2 separate regions of the Homo sapiens genome follow, and region 2 is linked to region 1. Evidence: promoter capture Hi-C in human tissues and cell types (Jung and others, 2019). All regions are on one chromosome and are shown on one strand. Each heading gives the region's core, a stretch centred on a gene start or on the middle of the fragment in contact. The rest is flanking DNA. Distances are from core to core; before and after follow the strand shown. Region 1 holds the start of PRDM6 (PR/SET domain 6). Region 2 overlaps PRDM6 (PR/SET domain 6).

What was found. The method cuts DNA at HindIII sites, captures the fragments that hold promoters and counts their contacts. A contact is called where the count stands out against the background at its distance.
Region 2: a fragment that was not itself captured here is called in contact with the fragment with the promoter of PRDM6 in region 1 in 2 of the 25 tissues and cell types used here (aorta and bladder).

Annotation. Positions count from the first base shown.
Region 1 is chr5:123,083,683-123,090,909 of GRCh38, reverse strand. It overlaps PRDM6 (PR/SET domain 6), which reads right to left and starts at 1,669. Exons shown (of 8, transcript NM_001136239.4): 1 at 1,391-1,669; 2 at 304-910. The coding sequence starts at 895. It overlaps PRDM6-AS1 (PRDM6 antisense RNA 1), which reads left to right and starts at 594. Exons shown (of 2, transcript NR_146771.1): 1 at 594-838; 2 at 2,971-4,679. RefSeq lists enhancers at 1,930-2,474, 2,475-3,019. The HindIII fragment of the contact is 7,641 bases long and covers 1-3,218 here.
Region 2 is chr5:123,181,757-123,188,902 of GRCh38, reverse strand. PRDM6 (PR/SET domain 6) reads right to left here. Exons shown (of 8, transcript NM_001136239.4): 8 at 1-1,816. The coding sequence ends at 1,702. Among named protein-coding and RNA genes, the nearest start is that of PRDM6-AS1, 95 kb to the right of the region's middle. The HindIII fragment of the contact is 5,750 bases long and covers 1-5,708 here.

The sequences.
Region 1 (7,227 bases), core at 420-2,919:
TAGGCCGGGTCCACGGTAGACTCCGGCCCCAAACACTTGGGACTGTGAAGCAGGTGAGGAGAGGGAGGGAGAGGGAACCCCAAAGTGCCACCGGCCGTCCCATCCGTTCTCTTTCCTTCTCCAACGCCAGAAAACTTTTGTCACAGAGATCGGGGAGGCGCGGGCCAGCGGCCAGGACCAGGTGCTCCCCACCCACCCGGCCCCGTGTCACTCCTATCCGACCCGCCTCCCTGACAGGCACCCGCGCCCGCCGGCGCCGGCGCCGGCGCCCCGGGAGAGAGCGCGCGGGCTGCGGCTACGTACGGTTGTTGGGGTCGCTGGTGTGCTGGTTGAGCGGGATGATCTCCATGCGCTGCTGGCCATACAGGTAATAGTCCAGCTCCTCTGCGCTGCAGCGGAAGCGCGGGGCGCCGCGACCCTCCCCGCCGCCGCCGCCACCACCACCGCACTTGACGGGCCCGGGGCCGGAGGTGGCGCCGAGGCACAGTTCCTTGGGGGGCAGCGGCTCGGCGGCGACGGCAGCGGCGGCTAGAGGCGCGAACACCGGCAGCTGCGACACCGGCAGGGCCGAGAGACCAGCCAGCGCGGCGGCAGCGGCCGCAGCAGCGCAGGAGGAGGCGGAGGAGGCGGAGGTGGAAGAGGAAGCCGGCGTGGACGAGGCGGAGGAGAGAGAGGCGGGCCGCGGGCGCAGGCTGTCCGGCGGAGGCTCAGCGCGCTCCGGGGGCGGGGGCGGCGGCGGCGGCTGAAGAGGCTGCGGCGCGCTCAGGAGACCCGCGGCGCCGCTGCCCTTGAGCGGGCCTGCGCCTCCGTGAGGGAAGAGTTGCTGCCAGTGCTGCAGGTAGGCTGGGTCCACTTTGAGGAAGGCCGAACCGCCGGGGTCTCCGGGCTTCAGCATGTCCGGCGCCTCGAACTGGGGGCAGAGGGCAGGGAAGAGGGGGCGCGTGAGCTGGGCGAAAGGGGCCGGGAAGAGGGCCACTGGGACCCTGGAGAAAGTGCCCGAGCCGGTGGTTCAGCCGGCGGCCGCCCGGTTCCGCGGCTCCCTCTTCCCAACTCCGCTTGGGCGCAAAGTTTACTCCGAAGCTGCGGCGCCGCACAGAGGGAGCTGTGTGCACCCTGCTCTGCCTCCCCGATCGCAGCGTCCAGCTCCCATCCAGCAATGCTGGGGCCCGACAGGAGGGCGCTGCCCCGTAGAACTCGGCTGCAGGACGCAGCCCCCGCCCTCAGCCAGCGCCCGGAGCCGACCCGAGCCGGCGTGGCGCAGCGCCCGAGCCGCGTTGGCCTCAGGCGCCAGGAGGCAGAACAGTCTCGCCGCCCGCCCCCAACCTAGGACCACCAACCTTCCTATCTACCAAGCCCTAGACTCTTAAGTCCCAGACCAGCCTCACCTTACCTGAAAACTCGGTGCTGCCGGTGGGTGCGTGCGGGTGTCTCGGTGAGCGTGCGGGTGCGCGAGAGTGTGCGCCCTGCGTGCGCTACATGCCCCTGAGCAGCGCGGGAGGAGAGTCCTAGAGATTGTGCCGCCCGGAAACCTCCCGACCTGCAAGCGAGAAAATTGGGAGGCCCGCGGAGGGCGCGAGAGTGCGGACGGACCTGGGCGCCCGACTCAACCGCCGTGGGCTGCTGCGCTTGGCCGCTGCCGCGTCCTGGCTCCTTGGTTCCACGCTCTGGCAGCTTCCCGGCTGGACACGTGGGTTTTACGACAGCACAAAATAGAGTGAGTGTGTGTGTGTGTGTGTGTGTGTGTGTGTGTGTGTGTGTGTGTGTGTGTGTGTGTGTGTGTGTGAGAGAGAGAGAGAGAGAGAGAGAGAGAGAGAGAGAGAGAGAGAGAGAGAACGGAGGGGGGAGGGGAGGCAGGCCAGAAGAAGGGGAGGGGAGAGGGAAGAAGGAAGTTCTAATTCGGCCCGACCCACATCGCCAGAGCGCCTTTCCCGCACAAACTCCTCCGCCCTCCCATCCCCTGTTTTTTTGGCGTGACGTCTGCCGCTAGCCTGTTGTCTCTTTCTGCCCATGATATGTCTTTTCTGGGTCCCAGCTCAGTGCCCTGATCTTGAAAGCAGTGGAAATGCGGCAACGGGAATGCATCTCCGCACACGCTGTGGTGTCCGCGCTGGAGCAAGCCCGCGCCGCCAGGACCGGGTTTGCGCTTTTGCCCGGCTCAGTTTTTCCTGAAGTGCTTCTGGGTGCCAGAGTCCACTCGCCCGCCACGCAACCTCTAACATAAATCCTCCGGGGAGAAAAGTTGGGGGCGGAGCGGGACGGGTTGCGCGCTGCAGTGAAACCCTCTGTCTGCAGCCCAGGAGGGAGGCTTGTCGGTGCAGGGAGGCGTAGGACCGAGGGTCCTGAGACCGAGAGCAGCTGGTCCTGGAGGGACTCAAGCTTGGCCGTGGGGCTGGGAGGCGGCTGCAATGGAGTCTGCACTCCACCCAGCGCTCTGCTGACCCCTTCTCGGGTTGTCTTCTGGAGGGCTCTTTCCCTCTCCTTCTTGGGGCCCGGAGACAAGTATCCAGTGTTACGTCTGGTGGCACAACTGCTCCGGGACACGGGCGAGGCTGTTTGCGGTCAGCTGCCTGCGGCTGCCGCAGGAGGTCACGCATAGGTTTCTCTACCCAAAACCTGGTGTTAGAGGGGCAGGGTGGGAGTGCAGCCCCACCTCCACCATGTCCTCTCCCCAGACTTTGTGCCAGGGCAGCCCTTCGATGCAGTCTCGCACCCACGAAGGAGGCACTTGCCCCCCAGCTCTTCCTGGCATTTTCGGTAGTAGATGGTAGAGGGCACAGGCAGGGTGTGTGAAATTGACCGACTCAGGAGGTACTTTCCCATCGCCGGGGTTCTGGCCATACCGTAAAGAGAAGAAACGGCATTTATCTTTTTCCAAACAACCTAACTTATTTAGCACTTGCCAATCTGAGCAATTAATAGCCATTCTTTCCTGATTTCTGCTTGTTTCTTTTTCTCTTCCCACCACTCAAGTTTTCTGAACCTGGGAAACGTGCTGTTCAGACTTCATCCGGGTCTCATTCAGGATGCTTCGATGTTGGTTGGAAGAGAGTTAGACCGAAAATGTTTTGACTGGCGTCGTTATGACAAGGTCATCCGTCATTGTTGGATAGATTGATAGCACCCAAGTTTAAGGCAGACACCACGAGGGAAAGCCCACGGCGCTGTGGTCCCGGAGGCTAACCAGGCAGTGTCCGCAGACCTCCAGCAACTCCATCGGGAGGAGAGGATGAAGTTCCAGGCCCGTTTCAATTAATCTGCTCGCAGAACTGCCGAAGAGTGGCTTGTCGGGCCACGGGAGAAGAAACAAATGCTCTTTCTCACACTCTCCTGGTTCATTGCTGAGAAACCAGGACACTCCTCTGTTCCCTGGGAGAGACAGTGAACTCCAGGGATGGAAGTCCGGACTCCGGCGGCGGTCCCGTCATTTGCCTTCTTGTTTCTGCCCAAACCCAGCTAGTTCCAAGCGCTTGGTCCCCAAGACTGGAAGTCCCCAAGAACCTACCTCTACCTGTCCCAACCCTGCCTCCCCCCTACCCTTTCACCCCCTGCCACCATTAGAAAGTCTCTGGATTTTGAAATGCTAGTTGCAGCAGCTGCTTCCGTGGCCTCATGCCGCCCACACTCTGGGAAGCGGAGGAGGGAGGGTTCCTCTCGTAATAAGATTAGCTGACCTGTTAATGAGAGTTTTGGACGTGCCGGGCGGGGGTAGGCGCTTTATGTCCATTTAATCCACCTACATGCGGAGAAGGCATTATCATTAACCCCCATATTGTAGATGGGGACCGCTGAGGTTCGGAAAGTTTAGATGGGTTGCCTAAGGTCACGCCATTAATGAGTAATGGAGACGGATTCAAATACCGTTCGGTAAGGTGCCAAGTGCATCTTCTGCCTACCCTAGTCCAACCTGTAGCCACTCGGTCCAGACTGACGCCAGAGGGGCTATCATGGGAGAGATTTGGTTCCCCTCGCTGCGGGGTCCAGGGAAGAAGCTGAGAAGGTAGCAAAGTCCCCCTCGCCCACTACGTCTACAGGTGGCGTACCTGGGTAATCCGATTCAAGCTTCCGCCACACCCACCCCGGGCACAAGTCGATCCCGAGGCTTACGGGACCCTAAGGCCCAGAGGCTACAGGAACCTCCCGTGAAGGGGGCAGGAGAAAGTTTGAGGGAGAGCCCTGAAGGTCCGGGAGCGAACGAAAAAGTCTGGAAGGGAATAGACCAGGAGTCAGGACCTCCCCTGCACCTCCCCAGCAGGCCCACTGCGCCGAGCGGGGCCCCTGCCTCCACCGCGGCTTCCGGGATGCCCGCAGAGCTCGGCATCCTCACCCGGTGCGCACAAGGGCGCGCAGCGGCGTAAGCTGGACCCCCGACGCTGCGCGCGCTCTGAGGGGCGCTTCCCCCTCACACAGTTGACCCTGGGCCCGCTTGGTCACGGCCACCCTGGCGCATCTCAATAGTTTTTAGAAAGTGAGCCCACCGACGGCAAGGACATGCACCCCCTCAAATCCGCTTCCCCCACCCCCTTCAATACTGAGAAGACCACGGAAACAAATCACTTCGACCACTTAGAAAGCGATCAAACCTTTATAAAAATCCATCGCTCCCAAATCGATGGGTGAATATTTGCTGGGAATTTGTTCCAGAGGAATAAATGAGGAGCCTTGAGTGTATTAAATGCAAACGGGGGGACACGGTGGTGTTTTTCTTCATTGATTAATGACCTCTAAAATAAAACAAGTGGGAAGAGGAGCCAGGATCGATAAATTACCCAAATTCATCATTTTCTCGAGCATTTTCGCCCCGAAAATTATCCTTGGGAAGCCCATTGTACCCTGAGCTGGGAGGGGAAGGATGTAGCTGGAGGCCAGGGTAGGGAGGGAGCAGCAGAAGGGGTAGGAGGAGAGAAGGGGGTTCTGTCCAGGAGACCCTCTATCTGATTCCGTTTAACATACAATTCAAAAGTTTGCCTTTCATATTATTTTTTCTTGATGGGGGAGTGGAACAAATGGTCGGTTGCCTTTGACAGGACTCCAATAAAGGATTCAGCAGCTCTCCGCTCTGCCCTGGGTGCTCCTGCTTCTAGTAGGTTTAAGGTCACGGGTGGCTGAGTTAATAATTCATTAATATAGACATTTATTCAGAAGGGTTCGCTGAGATCCACTCTTCCTGCCTCCTCCCAGAGATTTGTTTTCCTAGGAAATGGATGGGGGTGGGGGGTGGGCTGCAGGTGAAAGGAGGGGGGCGGGAGGAGAAGGAAAGGCTGGATGTAGCTAGGAGGAATCTTTGCTGAGCCGTATTAGCAGACAGGTCCCTTGAGCCTGCCAGCAAAAACTTGGTTGAAAATGTGGTATCTAAACAGCACAGAGACTCTGGCCTGCGGTGGCCCTTTTTCCTTCCATACCTGTTCATTCGCTTGTTTAGAAAGCTCCTTTCCTCCATGGTTTGGGACCAGGGAGGAGCCTTCTCACTGAGGATCTTGGATTGCAGGCAAAAGGGAAAGCTGTGAGAAAAAAACAGGACCCCACCCCCATCCCTATGAGGTTCCCAAGGGAGGAGCTTTGAAACTTGCCCAGACTTGGAATCTAAGGGAACCTCCTCTCCTGAGGGCACAGGCAACTTTTGGAGGACACTCCACCCCTCAGAAATGGGATCATGGAGAAGGGGGTTGGAGGCGGAGACTGAAAGTAAATAGTAAGTAATAAATCAGTAATGGTTAGATGGGAATAAGTGCTATGGAAAGCAATAAAGGATAGAGGGAAAGGGAGTGCATGTAGGTGGAAGGAGTTACTGTTTTACATATAGTGGCCAGGGAAAGCTTCTGTTAGAAAGTGAAATTTAAATAGAGACTTGAAGCAAGAAGATGCCAGTTTTCTGTCCAGAGCGGGATATTCCCTGCCCTAACCTATAGCCAGTGGCTAAAGCAGTAAAAGGGGCCTCTCCTGAAGAACTGTCAAGGATTTGCCTCCTCGCTACTGGCCACACTTGCTTCCCTTAAGCTGCTGTGTACTACTCGATATTCTTTCAGTACCTCCATTGACTGTTCTCATCAATTGGAGTCGCCTAACTTGCTGGTAACTTAGACCCTGACACGGTGACCGACCTCCAACTATCTGGACCTCAATTTCTTCAACAGTCCAAAGAAGAGGCAGGACAAATGCAGTGTTCTGTCCTAAGCTTTTATGAAGCAGCTACCGAATTCTGACCTCCCCACCCTATTACATATTTTATACCCTACTCCTGCATGCTGTGAGTCTAAGATGAGCAGGGTGTAAAATGTATTGCCCAACTAAAAACTAGAAAACCCTCACCATTAATTTTAATCACTGCAGTCTGCCCGTTGATCCCTTTGCATCTTCACTTGTTCATCCTTACTTAGTGACAGAAGACAGCGCCAGCCACCATTGGAAAGAAAGGGTGCGAGGAGTGAGGCAGAGGAGATAGAAGGCAGTGAAATGCTTAGCACACAGAAGCCAGCTCTGGCCTCAGGTGATGCAGCAGGTGCCTCGCCATTCATCTGACATACCCTCCTCTTCTGAGGCCTTGGCAATTTAGACATGTCCTTCCCTCAGCTTTCCTCCTCTCACAAAAGTACTTGGAAGTTCAGCTCCTCACTTTGCCAGGTCAAAAATGGCCTCTGGGTCCGGGAGACCAAGCCCAGGAGATTTGTGACCACTCTCTTTCATCCTCCGCCAGGACCCTGGCAGACAGCACCTATTCACGTTACTTGAAATGCAGCCGAAGCCTCCAGTTCCTTTCACCCTGGTCACCCAACAGCTGCCAGTCAAATGATGCCTCTCAGCCACCTCAGGCCTGATTTGGATTTGACCTACTGACCTTGAGGTGAAAGGCTCTGCAGTCCATTATGAATCCCTGGGGCCAGTTCATTCTCCCAGGAAAGCCTCTAAATATATCCTTTCCGTTTGCAGGGAAATCAGCTATTATAATTTGCAAAGGTCTCGTGAGTTTAAAACATATTGGTGGCAGTTCAGTCCCATAAAGATTTAATGAATAGCAACTGGGTGAAAAACAACTCCTTTTTTTTTTTTTTTTGTCTTGACAAGTCAAGGAAAAGAGAAATGATTAGACAAGAATAGCTATCCCTTCAGAAACTCACAAATTCCCTTCACTATCTCCTTCCCATCCCACCCTTTCCCCAGGAATTTAATCTTATATTTTTCCAAGTATCTGTAAGAATAGACAAACCCAATTATAGTTACCTACAATTTAAC
Region 2 (7,146 bases), core at 1,584-4,083, 97 kb before region 1:
TAACTGTAAACACTTATTAATTAGACCCTGTTGAATTCCATTTAAAATGTGGTAGCTGGGGTGCTAAGGAATAGAGAAGCAAAATTAAAAGGGAAGAGAGATTTTCTCAGAGCCAGATACATAATAATAGATTAAACTAAACCACACAGTATCCTTGCCTTTTAGTAGTGAGTTCAGTTATGTGTCTCATTTTTATTGAGGGAAGACAATGGGAAAGCTCAAAGACAAGGAGTTCCTTAAAAGACTGTGTCCTGATATCAGGTGATGATGAAATTTACAAACAGAAACTGTTGTTATTAAACACTCTAGATAAAACTGAACAGTTTTTATCTAAACTGGCCATCAAGGTAGACAGTCGCTGAGATGCTGCTGGGAGCTATCAGCTCTTCCCAAAACTAGATCATTTCATTAAATGTGACCCAATTTCATTGAGCACCACTGTTGAACCACCAACAGGCTAGCTGAAATTAAACTCACATTCTCAGCACTCAAAGAATAGTGAAATTGTGTGGAGAATTCCTTCTCTTTCAATTAATCAATCTCAAGAAAAGACAAAGTAATCCTATTGATAAAATTAGCTGCTCCTGGGCTATCTGTTCTAACCACAACCTTCTCCATGGTTCCTCCTCTCAAAGTCTCCTTGTCTGGGCTATTTTCACTTGTGTTTGTAGACATGCTCCTCCCACACTCAGGAGAGAGGAAAGGGGGCTCCTGGGGTTCATCTGCAAGAGGAAGAAAGATAAAATTGCTAAAAGGGCCTTGACGATGGGGTTTGGCACTATTTTTGTTCACATGTTCAACACTTTCACAGAAACAACTAAAAAAATTACAATGAAGCCTAACACCTTATCTCCAGCCTTAAACCAAAGAACTTTATTTTCATTTTCTTTTTTTTTTTTTAAGCTAAAATGTTATTGAAAACAAATGTTTCTCAACGAGCTGCTTCGGAACAATATAACGTATTATGAAGCTCCGTACATTTTACATGTTCTTGCAATCTTGACAGGACAAAATAAGTCCTCAACTTTTTCCTTTGAATTTTGAAACTGAAACCATTTTCTTCCTTTTCCAGACTCTCCTGCATCAAGACCGGGCTGTTTGGAAGAAACCGTGTAAAAAGTGCATGAGCAGTGAGCATGGAAGACATGGAAATGGGATGCGTCTGGGGCTGAAGGTAGCATTGACTCAGCGAAGGCTCTCACTCTGCTTCCGTGGTCCCCGCTGGGGCAGCCAGTGTCAGGCCAGGCCAAACTGACACAGCAGAATGAAGGGCTGTACAGTGGGTCCCCATGAAACATGTTACTAAAAAAAGGTGCAACGAGAACCAAGTCCCTGTGCATTCTTAGTCACAACGGTGGGCAGAAGAACCCATACGATTCCTCCCTTTGGTATTAAATAACAGTTTTTAAAAAGCTTTTTAGAAACAAAGCAAAATACATGGTGGGACTGGAAATGTTAACCATCCCAGGTTAGTTGTCCACTGAAATAAGTCTCATCCCTAAGTCATAAATAAATAATCTCTTTCCTGGTCTGACTTCCATGCCAGGATCAATATCTCTTAACATCTTACTTATTTTATTACTGCTTTTGGTTTTCTGGGACTGATTGAAAGTTGCTCAGAGGAAATCTTTGGTTTTGCTTAAGTGTCCGTGACATTTAATCATGACTTTCCTTGCAGTTTAATTCCAACCAGTCAATCCGTTAATCCACTTCGATTGATTCTGGGCTCTCAGTTATTGGCTTGCACTCATTGGGCATCCGCTGGTGTCGGCTCAGCTGGGTGGCCTGCGTGAAGCTCCTCTCACACCTCTCGCACCTGGTGGAGGCAAGAGAGAAAATTGAGACCAGGGAGCGGGGCCTGCAGGGTGATGGGCTTCCTCTCATCCTGCCTAATCAGAACAGACACTCCAAAGTGGCTTCAGATTTTACCAGCTCAAGAGGTTTAATTGGTGGCTCCTTCCAAGGCCTGGATGCCTGTGATGGGACAAAGCCCGTCTGATGCAGAACAGAGGGATCTGTCAATAGGCAGGGGGAAGGTGATTTCTCCAGAGAGCCCTGTCCTGCTGCAGCTCTGATCACTGTCAGTTCAAATAGATAAAGAACAAAAAGAGATTTTTAGGAGTGAGCCATCAAAGAAGCAGCTTGCCTGCAGTTTTCTACTCTGTAACCCCAAAGAGAAATTGATGACAAATAGAATTTCACCTACTGCTAATTTACAATTGGGAATTCTACTCCCTTCAGAACAGCAGCCAAAGAGTGTACATCTTGGAATTTGGAAACTAGAGGAAGCAATATGTTAGACTGCAGTGACTGTGAGGGGCAGTAGGCGTGGTCGCTGCTTTTTTGCAAAAGCTGGTTACAGTGTCACAGCCTAACCAAACTTAGGGTTAAAATAATTTATAAAACTAGAATTTGCAGTGGCACAGTGGAAAGGATGTACCTATGGGCTAGAATTAAGGGCAGTGTGTCTGATGAGGAGAAAATGTCACACTTCAAGATTTATCTCTTCTTTTTAACTTAAATGAGAAACAACAACAAAAAAAGACTGTAATCTAGAGACTTTGAGTTCCTCCCTATCTCCCATGTCCATATCTTCCAAACAACCTTCACTTACTAGCTTGGTGGCTACTCAATCTACAAAAAGCAGAACACACATTCAAAATCTAGTGGGAGCCTGTTGTTTTTCTGTGGATGTTGTCCCTGGCTGATTGTGATTGTGTGTGTAAATACACACACCCACAGATGAACTGTGGCAGCTGGCTGGGCACAGACAGCGACTTCTCCATCACCACCTTACTTACCTGGGCTGCCTAGAGCACTGGCCCAGCATCTAATACAGCTCAGAGGCCACCTCAGCCACCCCTAATGCCCTTTCCTCAAACCTTTGAAGAAAAAGATATTCAAGAAGAGCTACAGACAATTGTCCCACTTTTAAATAATGCAACCTCCAGTTTGTGAGCCCCTGCACTATGAAAGCTGTGGCAAAAGCCACCATGACATAGTCTCCCTGCCTTATCACAGACAAGAAAGCCACAAGCCCTGTTATCTGTTAGGCATTCCACTCTTTCTCCTCTTCAGTAAATTATATTAAGTGCCCTGTCTTGGAAATAAGTACCTATAAAATAGAACACATCAATCCACTCTGGGAATTCTTGCATGTTTTTGAACATTGGGAGGCAGGAGCTTCACTTCGCATTTGGATTTTTCAGGGCTCCTGCACCAGCGGAGTGTGTCAGGGGGAAGAACTTGTGTTTCTTTGATTGTCTTTCGGGGAATATTTTTAGCAGCCTGTTCCACTGTTAAAAACTGCACTGTGATCTTGACAAATGTATAATGTCAGCTTTAATGTATCAGACCTATCAGCTCAATGAAAATAACTCAGAAGTATTGATCACCTAATGATTTTTGGTGTATTCATTAACGTCCGTGGGCAGCTCATCCCCTCTCCAGAGCTCCTGGAGTGCTGATGACACGTTAGCGAACTGCTGATTGTTTATTAGAAAACTGATTAGTTACTGGATTAGTGTGTCAAAATATACTACCTTTCACTGCTTGACAAACTTTCAAATTATTATATTCCTTTTTTTTATCTTGAAGCTCTAGAATCAATTTCAAAGAGAGTAGAATAGCTTGAACAATTGTGAGAAATGAAAATGTGCCTGGGTCATGGTTTTGCATTTTTAATCTTGTGTATTAGAATATGAGGAATACACGAGTTGGCAGTTTAGTGCTTCATATAAGGCAAAAGTGTATGTCTATATGTAATATTTTAACATCCAGATTGGATGGAGACACTAAGAGAAAAACACATTTTTCTCAAGTGTTTGCCTAAATGCACTGCAGATATTTACACAAATGGAACAATTTGTTGTAATAGTCAGAAAATTTGTCCAATATATAGGGTGCATAAGAAGAGTATTCCAGAAAAATCATTTCTAGAGCCATCTGCACACCAAGTGTGAGTAAAAATACAAGCAAACGTGTAGAAATTACCTTAATTTAGAATCTTTTCTCAGGGAGTTCTCCTTGAGGAAAGAAGGCTACCAGAAATAATATCTATGTTGTCTGGGAATGACAAGAATGCAATTTATATATTTGAGGAAGTAAGAGCTAGATATAAAAATATTTTTTAAAAATAAGAGAAGGACTTCAGTTTTATGTTCATTATCTTACATTTTAGAGAAATCTCTTCCACAAAATATTTTCATACTTTAATGAAACTCATCTCAACAGAACTGACTCAACAGAAGTCAGAGCCAGACTTCACTTGGTTGGCATCTAAACTAACCCTGAATTACAGTCCCTGATGACTGACTGGCAGGGGCATCTCTAAGCCTGGACTTCGTGCAGTGTAACAGAGTAAGAAGGAAGAAAAGATGCAGGTAATGCGTCAGGAGGGAAAAGCGCCCTTGCACTCAGGGGCTTCGTTGTGCCTTCCCTTAGCATAGGTGCTGATGCCACAGCCTTGACGGGAGTATCTCAGGAACAATGAAGTGGAAAGTCTACTAAGTATTTCAGCTAAAAGAAACTCCTCATTGTGAGGAGTTTCTATTATACCATTGTGAGCATCTTAATTAGACTTAATTACCTCTAAAGTTTGAGATCATTCTTTACTTACTATGATGGTTGACTGGATTATATGTACGAGGAGCTTAACAAAGCGATGTCAAGTTCTGTTACCACAGAAAACCTGCAACAAGCTTTCTGTGCCTCTATGATATGCCACAAAATACTTTTTGAATTGAACCAAATTGCACAGGGCTTTGTATGTATGATGTGTTCAATGCATATTTACTGATTTGCTTCTTGGATTTGCTTTAATTTTGCCTAGATCTTGTTCAAATATTAGATGTCCTTTGGAATTTCCTTTGATTTTTTTCATCATGAGCCAAACTCCATTTTCTTGATGAAAGAACATAGCGATGAATGATTCTCCTTGCTTCTAACAATAATGAAGAACCCCTCCTAAGGAAAATTCTGGCCTGTTCTCAGTTTCCCAGGTTCAGAAAGCCAGGCTTCGGGCAGCTCACACAGATCCTCTCAGGCACAGCAGGGCAGCCCACTGAAATATCAAGACACTGTTTAGTAAGAAGGAGGAAGGAGTCCTTGCTGCATAGAATAATTTTTAGACTGCCAACTAACTTCTTTATTTCCTTCCTTCCTGCCTGCCTGCAATAAAATGCTTGGCCATTGCTGTTAAATGATATCTTGCGTTTGCTCCTTGTTTTCCATGACTTCCAGTATCATAGAGCAAATTGAAAGCCAAGACCTTCAATGTGATCCTCCAATTTTTATTTTTCGTACATGCTCCTTTATCTTAGAAATCCTAAGTCTACGGCCTAGGGTAGCTGCTGACAGGCCCATCATCTACCTAGAACATGGGAGATGGATTCTTTCAGTGGAATTTCAGTCAATCAGATATGAGGCAAAGCCTGGATTGAAACTCTGACCTCTTCATGCCAAATCTTCTGCAGCCTTCTTTGGATGGCAGTAATCTTGATATGCCTTCAAAAACCACTTCTCAGCAGAAGATTTTAGAAGTTGTAAAGGGCTTTCTCTGACATGGCAAGCTTAATCTCAGCTCAACCCTGAGAATTCTGTAAAGGCCTCCTGAGCCCTGGATGGGTGGGACAATTTGGGGACTGAGCCATCTGGGGCATCTATTTGGAAACTCCCCAAGACATACAGTTGAGGGTTATGTGCCTTTACAAGATTCTTCTCCTTCTTTGTAACATTGTGTAAGCCAATACCCATTAGTTGAAGTAGTAAAATTAACTGTTGTAGAGAAACCCATTTTATTGACTAATCTGCAAAAAAAAGGTTTTTAAAAATGTTTGTTTTATAAGCTTGTAAAAGGATATCTTCATAATATTTACAAATGTCCATGGGATGAATATCCATGAGCTATGGTTGGAAGATTCCCAAAATTCCCTTGGGATAGATCAATTCTGAAAGACCTGGTTGTATACACTAAAGGATTTAACTTTCCATTTCCTAGAAGATGTTTAAATCTTGCACTTTCAAAATAAGCATACACTCAGCTCTCCCCTGGGAATATCTATTTGATAAATTAAAATAAAAAAAAACAACTACAGCATGTGGCTGTCTAGATAAAAGTAGGAACAGAAAGAACTAAAACATATACACAGAATTTAAGCCAACAACCTTAGTTGTTTCCTTTTTTTTCCAGATGAAAGTAGGTATGATCAAAACATATATTTTTGGAAAAGGAAAAATACAATCAGCAAAGCCCTTCAAATATTAATCTGATGAATTAAAATTAAGTTAAAATGGCAACTCTATTGGAAACATGACAAAAACAGATGTTAAAGGAAAAAAATTGAGTGAAGTCAACAAGGTTACACATAAGTAACACCTTAACATTAATAGAAATCTATTTCCCATTTTGACCCTGAAACCGCTTCAATTAATTACTAAAATCTATTTACACAGCAACAAGATAAAAATCAATCTGACTCCTGGCACTGTATTGGTCTGGCTGCCCTTTCTAATATAAGGGGCCAGAAGGATCCTGAACCCTCCTGTATCTCTGCTTTTGAAAAGCTCTCTTGCTCAAAGGCACAGGCAACGTGCCACTCATTGTCAACACCCTCCTCCAGAGCAGTGAAGCCAGAACCTAGGAACCCTACGGGGCTCAGGCCTGAGGGCAATGACAAAGTCCACTAGGCAGGATACAAGCACTGGTGATAGGGAACTCCTAGGACTGTGGTAGCCCATGCAGCTCCTTAGGGTGGATTAGAAAAAGATGCCCTCTTTGGGCTATTGCAGCCTCAGGCGGCACAGCATGGGTGGCATAGTACAGACTTGATTTTAGGCCCCATCCTGCCCACTTAGCCAGATGCTCTTATGCAGTGAACAAGCTGCACCTATGTACCGCAACAAAAATTATCACTATTTTGATTATTAACACCATAAATTAAACTATGTTGGAGAATAGTTAAGAATGCTGAATAAAGTAACTAATTATTGAGGAGAAGAGGGACAATGACTATCTTTTATGAACTTCTCCCTTCACTGGCAGACAGAGAGGAAGGCAGGACCCAGACCAGAGAACTCTGTTTCCCAAGCTGAGCCTGGCCTCAGGCTGAGCACAAAGTGCGCCACGACAGCAGGTCTGGATGGAAA